3 separate regions of the Homo sapiens genome follow, and regions 2 and 3 are each linked to region 1. The links are contacts of gene promoters, found by promoter capture Hi-C in blood cells and fetal thymus (Javierre and others, 2016). All regions are on one chromosome and are shown on one strand. Each heading gives the region's core, a stretch centred on a gene start or on the middle of the fragment in contact. The rest is flanking DNA. Distances are from core to core; before and after follow the strand shown.

Region 1 (3,040 bases), core at 6-2,505:
TTTACTACTGTGCTAGCAGTTGATCGCGGCTCCAATAAGATATAAACAGAAATGGAATTAATGGTACAATTTCTGCACACTTCAGGTAAGTGAAACATATATATCACCTTTCCATTCTATTTCAGAACGCGGTATCAGCGGATGCAACAAAGACCACACAGTGTAGCAACGGAGAAATGTTAGCATAAAACAGTTTTGTTTTGTTTTGTTTTTCAATTAAAAATCCTACGTCCCCAGCTGGTTAACTACACACTGCATAAAGTTTACTGTGATGACAACTGTTTCTAAAAAGCAAACCTTTCTTCCCTTCAAAGTGTCCTCCTCCGATCCTTAGGCCATGACTGATTCTAATACTTTTGATCTTAAGACACACAGTGATGACTTTTCTTTGAAAACTAGCAGGTTCGAATGTAGGCCCCAGGTGTCTGCCGTCATGCTTCCGACTCCGGGAAGTGAGGGAAGCCCATCTCCGGTCAGGGTTTACTGTAAGCAGCCCAGAGCCGGAGCACCGACGCAGAGAGACGTGGAAACAGAAAGCGAACGTACTACGGGGCCGCAGCGGGATCCCCGCGCCAGACGCCACCCCGTTAGCAACATATGGGAGAGCAGGGATGGTTCCCAGCCCCTTGACAAGCGCGGCGACGGCTCCGCGGGGCCTGGCGGCGAAGGCGAGGCGAGGCTGCGGCGACGAGGGGCGCGGCGGGCGGGCCGCCGGGGGAGCCCCGCACATTCCTCCCCGCGGCGGAGGCGCACGTGGGGTTCGAGGCCGCAGGGCCTGCAGAGGCGGCCAGAGCAGAGGGCGGCAGGTGCGGGAAAGAAAGAGGACGGGCCCCGGAGGCCGCAAGCCCGAGCAGCGGAGGACGATTCCCGGAGCGGCGGCATGCGGGTCCGCGACCCCGAGGCACCGGCAGCTCGGACAGGGTGGGGGAAGGGAGGGAGGCACCGGGACGCCTAGAGACGGCAGTGTGGGGGTCTGAAGGAGAGACCGGATGGGGGCCCCGAGGGACGCTCGCCGGCGCGGAACTCAGCTCACCGTGCCTCCGTCCTTAATGATGATCTTCTTGGCCAGCATGATACTGCGGTTCGCGGCCCGTTTCTTCTTCTTCCCCTGGGTCATTTTACCATCCTCGATTCCTGGCGCTGCTGCAGCCACTCCCGGGGCGGCAGGCCCCAGCAGCTAGTGCCGTCCCACCACTACTGCCGGGCCGAGCCGCTCTGGGCGCCCGCCGCCATCTTGAGGGCCCGGCCTGCCTCCGGCGGCGCGTCACAATCGTGCGATCAGCCGACGAGCGGGCCCCGCCCCTCCCGCGTGATACCGCCCCGCCCGCTCGCCGCCAGCCCACTCTACAGTAGCCGCGCGGCCAGGGTAACCGCGGGCTCGCGTGGGTGCTGCTGGCTACCTGTACAACTTCGTGCTCCGGCGTCACCAGCTAGCTAAATCCTCGCAACGGTTCTGGGCGATAGGGGCCGTTTTTGTCCCCCTTCTTCAGCAGATGAGGGAATTTGTTTCAAAAAGTTGTTACCTGCTCACGGAAACAGACGTCCTAAGCTATTAACACAATCTCCAGCTGTGTTCTAACCAAGACAGGAACCGAAGGGAACAGTAAAAAATCATTTTCCGTAAGTAATGGGTAACTTAAGAGATAATGTAGTGTTTCAGAAACAGTCTTGTCCTTTTGGTGTTCAGGGACCCCCGCTAGAACTCAGCTGGCTCACGCTTGTTTACCTCCCTAGACCCAGGACCTTTTTTATTCCCTGCCAAAAAAAATACCTTACCTGACCGATGTCACCCTTTGTGGCCCTCTACGTTTTTACTGTATTGTTTAAAAATAAATTTGATGGGAACATTGCTAGAAAGGGCAATTTACACAAGTGGAAGTGGACTTTAAAGTATCACAATGTTAAAATTAGATATTGATAACTACCGTGTTGTATAATAGAATATCCTTTTCCTTAAGAGAAAAACACGAGGGATAGGGATACACCGCATGCTCCCTACTCTCAGATGGTTAGGGAGTAACATGTATGTGTATGTATATGTAGGTGGGGAAAAGAGAGGGACAAAGCAAAATGGCGAATGTTTAAAAGTACTGAAACTAGGTATGGTAGTTCTAAGATATGTTCACAGATTCAATGATATTCCTCCCTGGAAGAGGTGGACTCTAATTCCCCTCCCCTTGAGTGTAGACTAGGCTTAGTGACTCTTGATAGATCAAAACAGAAGTGACAGTATTGACTTCAGAGGCTAGGTCATAAAAGGCACTGCATCTTCCTTTGCGGGTCTCTTTTTCATTCATTTTGGGGCTTGGAGCCTGGGGAAGCCTGCTTCCGTGTTTTCAGGACACTCAAGCAGCCTATGGAGAGATCCAGTTGTCCAGGAACTGTTTGTAGCCTCCTACCAAATGCCACGGAGTGAGTCACTTTGGAAGTAGATCCTCCAACCTTGGTCAAGCCTTTGGCTGACTACAACTTCATGAGAGACCCAGAGGTAGGACCACCTAGCTTAGCCACTCCTGGAATCCTGACTCAGAAACAGTGTAAGATGAAAAGTACTTGGTGTAAGCCACTAAGCTTTGGGGTTATTTGTTACACAGCTATAAATAACTAATATATAGGGTAAAAGGAAAAACAGTAAATGAATGTATGAGTTCTTTGTACTGTTTTTGCAACTTTTCTGTAAGTTTGAAATTATTTCCAAATAAAATGTTAAAAAGTAAATTTGATTGAATTTCCTTTTCCTTGTATTTTCATACTGACTAAAAATGGAAAAAAAAACTAATTTCCATGGAAGGGAGAAGAAAAGCAATTTATAGCCTGATAGATACTTCTAATTATATTTTCCAATCAATAAGTATATTCATTATACTTGTTTTGAAACATATATTCTCATTTTGAAACTTTTTTTATTATTTATTTTTTGAGACAGAGTTTTGCTCTTGTTGCCCAGGCTGCAGTGCAATAGTGCCAACTTGGCTCACTGCAACTTCCAGCTCCCAGGTTCAAGTGATTCTCCTGCCTCAGCCTCCCGAGTAGCTGGGAT
Region 2 (3,102 bases), core at 90-2,589, 400 kb before region 1:
ATAAAATTTATACAACCAAAAATATTATAAGGGGGCTTGGCATGGTGGCTCATGCCTGTAATCCCAGCACTTTGGGAGGCCGAGGCAAGAGGATCACTTGAGCTCAGGAGTTCAAGACCAGCCTGGGCAACATGGTGAAATCCTGTCTTTAAAAAAAAAAAAAAATTAGCCAGACATGGTGGCATGCACCTGTAATTCCAGCTGCTTGGGAGGCTGAGGTGGGAGGATAGCTTGAGCCTGGGGAGGCAGAGGTTGCAGTGATCCGAGATTGTGCCACTGCATTTCAGCCTGGACAAAAGAGCTAGACACCGCCTCAAAAATAAATAAATAAAAGGTACAAATTCAGTTTTATTTTAAATAAAACCTGATTTCTAAAATAAAAGTAACATAATTTTACTACCCTACTAGATTTTTCTTATAAACTAAAGGTGCAAAGTGATTGTATATAAATGAGAGAATATATATAGATATGTTGTTTTTCCAAAATAAAATTTTGGTGACTCCTGATTCAAAGGAAATAACCAAGGCTGAAAGGACAAAACTGACCACTATGGAAAACTCCAGAATGCTTTTATTTAGCACCCACTCGATTTGCAATACATGAGTGTGACAGGGGGAAAAAATTAATCAACATGAAATTATGTTTTGTAAAAAAAATTAAATGTACAAACCTCATAATGTTCATATTCATCCACATCAAATGTCTCAAAGTCAAAAAATCCATGTTGTAATCCCTAAAAGCAGAATTTGAATTAGTTTTTCCATGCTAAATTGATAAACTCTACTCATCATTTCTGGAACTCCTACTTACAGAAATGATCCTCACTAATCTGAAGAGACAGCTTGAAACCTTTGATGTTTAATGCATATCTAGAAATCTTTTTATAAAACTGGTTATATTGCATTAAGACTGTCTTACTGGAACTAAAAAAACACTTAGAATAACATGAAAAAGCCCCACAAAAGATGCCTTGATTTCTAATTTACATCAGTTTTGTATGTAAAATTATATGTATACAAAATGAAATAAAACAAATTTATAGTTAGAACCTGTTGGGAACTAGACCTAACTATGACAGAATAGATCATAGTGATTAACTTCTTTGTTAGGAGAAGAAAAATCAATTATTCTTATGAGTTTTTGTCTTCCTTTTATCATAGGGAGATATTTAGCCCCCCAAAAAAACCCTGCATCTTTTACTGTTTTTTCTTCCTTAATATTTCTACTTAATAGGTCCTTAATAATATTTGATGAGAGAATATATATATTTATATATAATATATAGTATATATTTATATATACTATATATAATATAGTATATTTATATATAATACATAATATAGTATATTTATATATACAATACATAATATATATGTAATATTTCTTAATATTTCTACTTAATAGGCCCTTATTTGTTCCTAAAACTCTACCTTGGGAGAATCTGTTTCATGAGATAGTTTCTGACAAAGTAGAATTATACTTGACTGCTCTTACAATTTAAAAAAAAAAACATATTTTTATCACAAAGTAAAAGTCATACTCAGTTTTGTAAACAATGACTTAGAACTTTTAAAAACTATCCAGCTAGCTCAGATCTAATATTTTAAAGAGAACAGAATCTTTTATTTTATAAATCATGAAGCTATACAGATTACAACAGAATACAAAACCACAGGTACATTTAAAAGTTACATGATCAAGTCATTAAAAATAGAAAAAGAAACTAGCAAGCCAAGCTCCAGTACATCTATCAGTGTTTTTTCAAAACACAGAACATGCGCCATCAGCATCAGAAACACTTAGGGTAATTCATATGAAAGAAGCAGACTCCTGGGCCCCACCCCAGAACTATCAAATCATATTTGCTGTGGTTGGGGCCCAGGATCACCATTTTCAGCATAGCTTCCCAGGTGATTCTTAGAAATGCAAAATTCTGATAACACTGGTTTAAACAACCCCTACAGAATAAGCAGAACAAATTATTTAAATTAGTCCATTCTAAAAAAAAAAAAAAAACTGAGTTCATCCATATGCACCTTTCCAGACAAAAAAGTGAGAAAAATATACAAACTCTCTGAAGGATTCACTTTTTTTTCCTCTGTATTTTCAAAGGGTTTGCTTATATCCATGTATAGTAGTTCACATAACATGGAATATAAACTATACTTATGACAATGCCAATACATTAAAATCAGAGAAATGTGCTCCCTAAAAAGGCAAAAATGTGGCCATACTCTGTATAGGTTCTTGGAATGGTACTACTCGTTGCCACACAAAAATAGCCCAGAATATGGTGCCTTATGTAAGAGAATGAACTTACAGGAAATGTCTCAGGTGCTTAAAGACATGCTGCACAATCTATCAGATCCTCCAAAATCTCATTTGTCTTTGAGTTAACCCCAACATTTGATGAAACAAGTTTACATACCTTTCCTCTACAACAGGAAGGATGCCACAACTTTCTATACTGAGTTACTAATTACCATAATTACAGGCAGCGATATTCCAGTGTGAACTTTCTAAATTTTTTAAGTGTTATAAAACAAATGGCCTGTAGCAGATGGTAGAAAAGGCAAAATAATAATAGTGACGATAAATAAATTATTTTTTCCCTCAGGCATATTTTCCAAATGCTATAATCAACTGTTATATGTTGGGTAACGTCTCCATAGAAGCTCTTAACTGGCATTACTGGAAATGCACCTTGGTAATATTGTTGCAAGAGTGGGCTAGAGTATCTCTGTAGTTGTTTAAGTAGAAAGAAAAAGATTTGAAAACCATTTTAAAGTTTGATAGGGTTTAAATTCATTTTAAATTAAATAGAAACAACCATGTATAAAACAGGTAGCACATTTATCACACCAATTTTCTCAACTCAAAACACAGCAAAAATCAGTTTTATATTACATCCAAGAAATGAACTAGAATTGCTACTGATAATATATTTATAGTCCATGTGACATTATTATATATGTCCTATGATCAATAGGTTATGTAATATGTACATTCCTGACTGATAATAAACCATAGTTATATGTTCGAGATTATGTACTTTGAGCCCTCATTAGAATTTACAGTATAGCTTATATAACTTCTCAGAT
Region 3 (2,710 bases), core at 77-2,576, 420 kb before region 1:
TTAGAGCAAATGGCATGTCATATTTTCTGAGTAGCTGACATGGGGTTGCCAGATAAAATACAGAATGCATGTTCCCTGCAATATTTGGGACATATTTATACTTTTTGTTTTAAAAGTATTCATTGTTTATCTAACTTTCAAATTTAATTAGGCAGCCTGTATTTTTATTTGCTAAATCTGGCAATCCTAAACCTTCTATAGTCTGAACAATTCCTGCCCCAAAGTATCCACCCCCAGAGATCAGAGATTTTTGCAAAACAAACTCTTTAAGTTTATTCCATGAGGCAGCATCACATCAGCAGCATTGTAAGCTAGCGGATTGCCCCTAGCAACAGGCATGGAAGACGCTCTGCTCCATGAAGCCAAAGACTAGGAGGGGAGGGAAAAGCAGAGACTGGAATGGGGGTCCAGATAACTGGGTCATAAAACAGAACCACGACAGTGCAAGAGGATGGAGAAGAGATGGGCAATTCTGAAAAAAAACAAAGGAGAGAGGAAAACTAACAACCCTTGTCTCTTGAGAATTTTACCTGTTTAAAGGTGTTCCTGCAGCCTAAAGACACTGCTACTGTGTTTCCCCTCATTGTGGCACGTGGGCCTGGAAAGGTAAGGTCTGAAAAACTGGCATATCAAGAAAGCCACACCACCACCAATTGTCCACACCCAAGCAATCGTTTCTTTAAGAAGGGGTTATTAAAATGAGTTTGTGTCCCAGTTGTCTGAAATTTAAAACCTCATTGTTTTTCTAAGACACTAAACAGGTTTTGTTTTATGTTATTTGCTCTTCCTTGGCCCGCCCCTTCGATAAGCACAGCCACCACCACCGAGGCCTTGCACACACCTTTGCAGTGAACGGCGATGGCCCCTTCGGTGTTCTCACAGATGTTCAGGAACCTTCGCACGATGTTGTCACTGGGTGTGCTGCCATCTATGAAGAAGAGGTCATAGTGCTCGAAGCCAGCGTCTGTGAAGCGCTTTGCCTCATAAATCTTTTTGTTTAGCCTCACAACTGCAGTCACATTATGCTTTTTGAAATAAGGAAAGTAGGCTTCAGGGGCGTGAAGAGGATAACCTAAAGGAACAAAGGAGCAGTAAGCAAAAGGCATGCATTTCATCTTCCACAACCCAGAAATACAAAACTCTCAACAATGAAGTGTATAAATCTCAACAAAGCTTGGGAGGAAAGTGTGTTGTGTGAGAGAAGAGGTCACAGCAAGCTCCTACAAGCATCAATCTGCATAACTGTAAGCACCACAGGAGGTTAAAAAGAAAACTTCTGTAAGTACTGAAAATACATCATTAAAGTTCAAAATCTCAACCTCTAGATTCGAATCCTGGGAGCATACTCTTCCCACTCCCAAGACAAAAGCATTCTTGAAGTAATCAAATGTGCATAACAGACCTAGAATGGTGACTTTATTCTCTCTTGAGCTTTATTCTCTACTTGACAAACAGTTTTCAACTACAGCTGAAGCTTTTTTGCCATATGTATAGTTTTAATTTGTAGTACAATGCTCCCCAGAAGCAATTATTATTAAGCACCTACTATGTACAAGTCACAATTGCGTATCATTTCAAATTCTCAAAACCATCTCTTAAGTATGGCTAATTCCATTTAACAGATTAAGAAACTAAAAGAGGGGGTGTTGGGAGGATATTGGTCAAAGAAAACAAAATTTCAGTTAGAAAGGAGTATGTCCCAGAGATCTATTGTACAACATAGTGACTATAATAACAATGTATTATATACTTTAAAGTCATTTAGAAAGTAAAATTTAAGTCTTCTCACCACAAAAAATGATAAATATGTGAATACTTAAGTAAGACTTGACTTAACCATTCTACGATGTATACATATTTCAAAAGTTGTTGTACACCATAAATATATAATTTTTATCAATTAAAATATAAATTTTTTTAGTTAAAAATAAACAATAACTTTTGTGGACACTTCCTTTTTTTGAGGGAGGAAGATGCTCCACCTTTAAATCCCCTTTTATTTTTGAGTGGCTCCACCATCATGTGAGTATTCCTGGGAGCTACACAGTCAGCTGGGTTACAGACCTAGCCTTAGCTAATCAGCCAAGGCAACCACTGGGGGCTTTGGCCTTTGCAGGCCTTGCAATGGCAGCTCCAAAAGTTCAGGGGACTAAGTTCCCAGCACACTGATGGCCACATCTGTAACCCATTCAGAATTCACTGAACCCTAACATACCAGCTGAGTGCAATTATCTCAGTTGGAACCCATTCATGATGGGAGGTTCCAGGGGTGGCGGCAGCCAGCAAAGTGAACCAGACTGTTTCCACGCTGTGTGCTTGGCTGTATTTCTTGCTGCCTTGGATCCCTGTTATGCTAGTCAGCTCTCAGCTCCAAGCCGACTCTTATGCTCTGTGACACTGGGGCTGGAGTCCATATACTACGCCCTACATTTCCCAGACTACCTTTCTATCTGGCTTCCTATTGGTTGTAAAAATGGGAGGCACTAAACCTCAACCTGAGGAGGAGGAAGGGAATTCTTCCTGTCCTCCTGGCAGCATCACTTCAGCAGCAGAAAACAGGAGCAGGTTCTGCTAACTCCACTTTTGTCCCTTTTGTCCCCCCAGCCTTAAAGGTACTAGCTGTTTTCTCCAACATATTCTGGTTTCTTCAGTGTTGCCTTTTTACTTTTTAGTCTTCTTTGAAATAAACTCCTTGTATTAAATGCTTTAT

The links. The method cuts DNA at HindIII sites, captures the fragments that hold promoters and counts their contacts. A CHiCAGO score of 5 or more calls a contact.
Region 2: a fragment that was not itself captured here is called in contact with the fragment with the promoter of SLC71A1 in region 1 in 2 of 17 cell types (erythroblasts and fetal thymus); the score reaches 7.0 in erythroblasts.
Region 3: a contact is called between a fragment that was not itself captured here and the fragment with the promoter of SLC71A1 in region 1, in 1 of 17 cell types (erythroblasts). The highest score is 6.9, in erythroblasts.

The regions. Positions count from the first base shown.
Region 1 is chr1:100,036,310-100,039,349 of GRCh38, reverse strand. SLC71A1 (solute carrier family 71 member 1) reads right to left here and starts at 1,255. Exons shown (of 12, transcript NM_033055.3): 1 at 1,034-1,255. The coding sequence starts at 1,117. It overlaps LOC124904230 (a long non-coding RNA gene), which reads left to right and starts at 1,342. Exons shown (of 7, transcript XR_007066251.1): 1 at 1,342-1,620. RefSeq lists silencers at 629-818, 1,279-1,458 and enhancers at 939-1,218, 1,181-1,783. The HindIII fragment of the contact is 6,938 bases long and covers 1-2,573 here.
Region 2 is chr1:100,440,566-100,443,667 of GRCh38, reverse strand. It overlaps CDC14A (cell division cycle 14A), which reads right to left. Exons shown (of 16, transcript NM_003672.4): 7 at 672-734. Among named protein-coding and RNA genes, the nearest start is that of CDC14A, 90 kb to the right of the region's middle. The HindIII fragment of the contact is 5,917 bases long and covers 1-3,102 here.
Region 3 is chr1:100,461,013-100,463,722 of GRCh38, reverse strand. CDC14A (cell division cycle 14A) reads right to left here. Exons shown (of 16, transcript NM_003672.4): 9 at 842-1,072. Among named protein-coding and RNA genes, the nearest start is that of GPR88, 76 kb to the left of the region's middle. RefSeq lists an enhancer at 954-1,575. The HindIII fragment of the contact is 301 bases long and covers 1,176-1,476 here.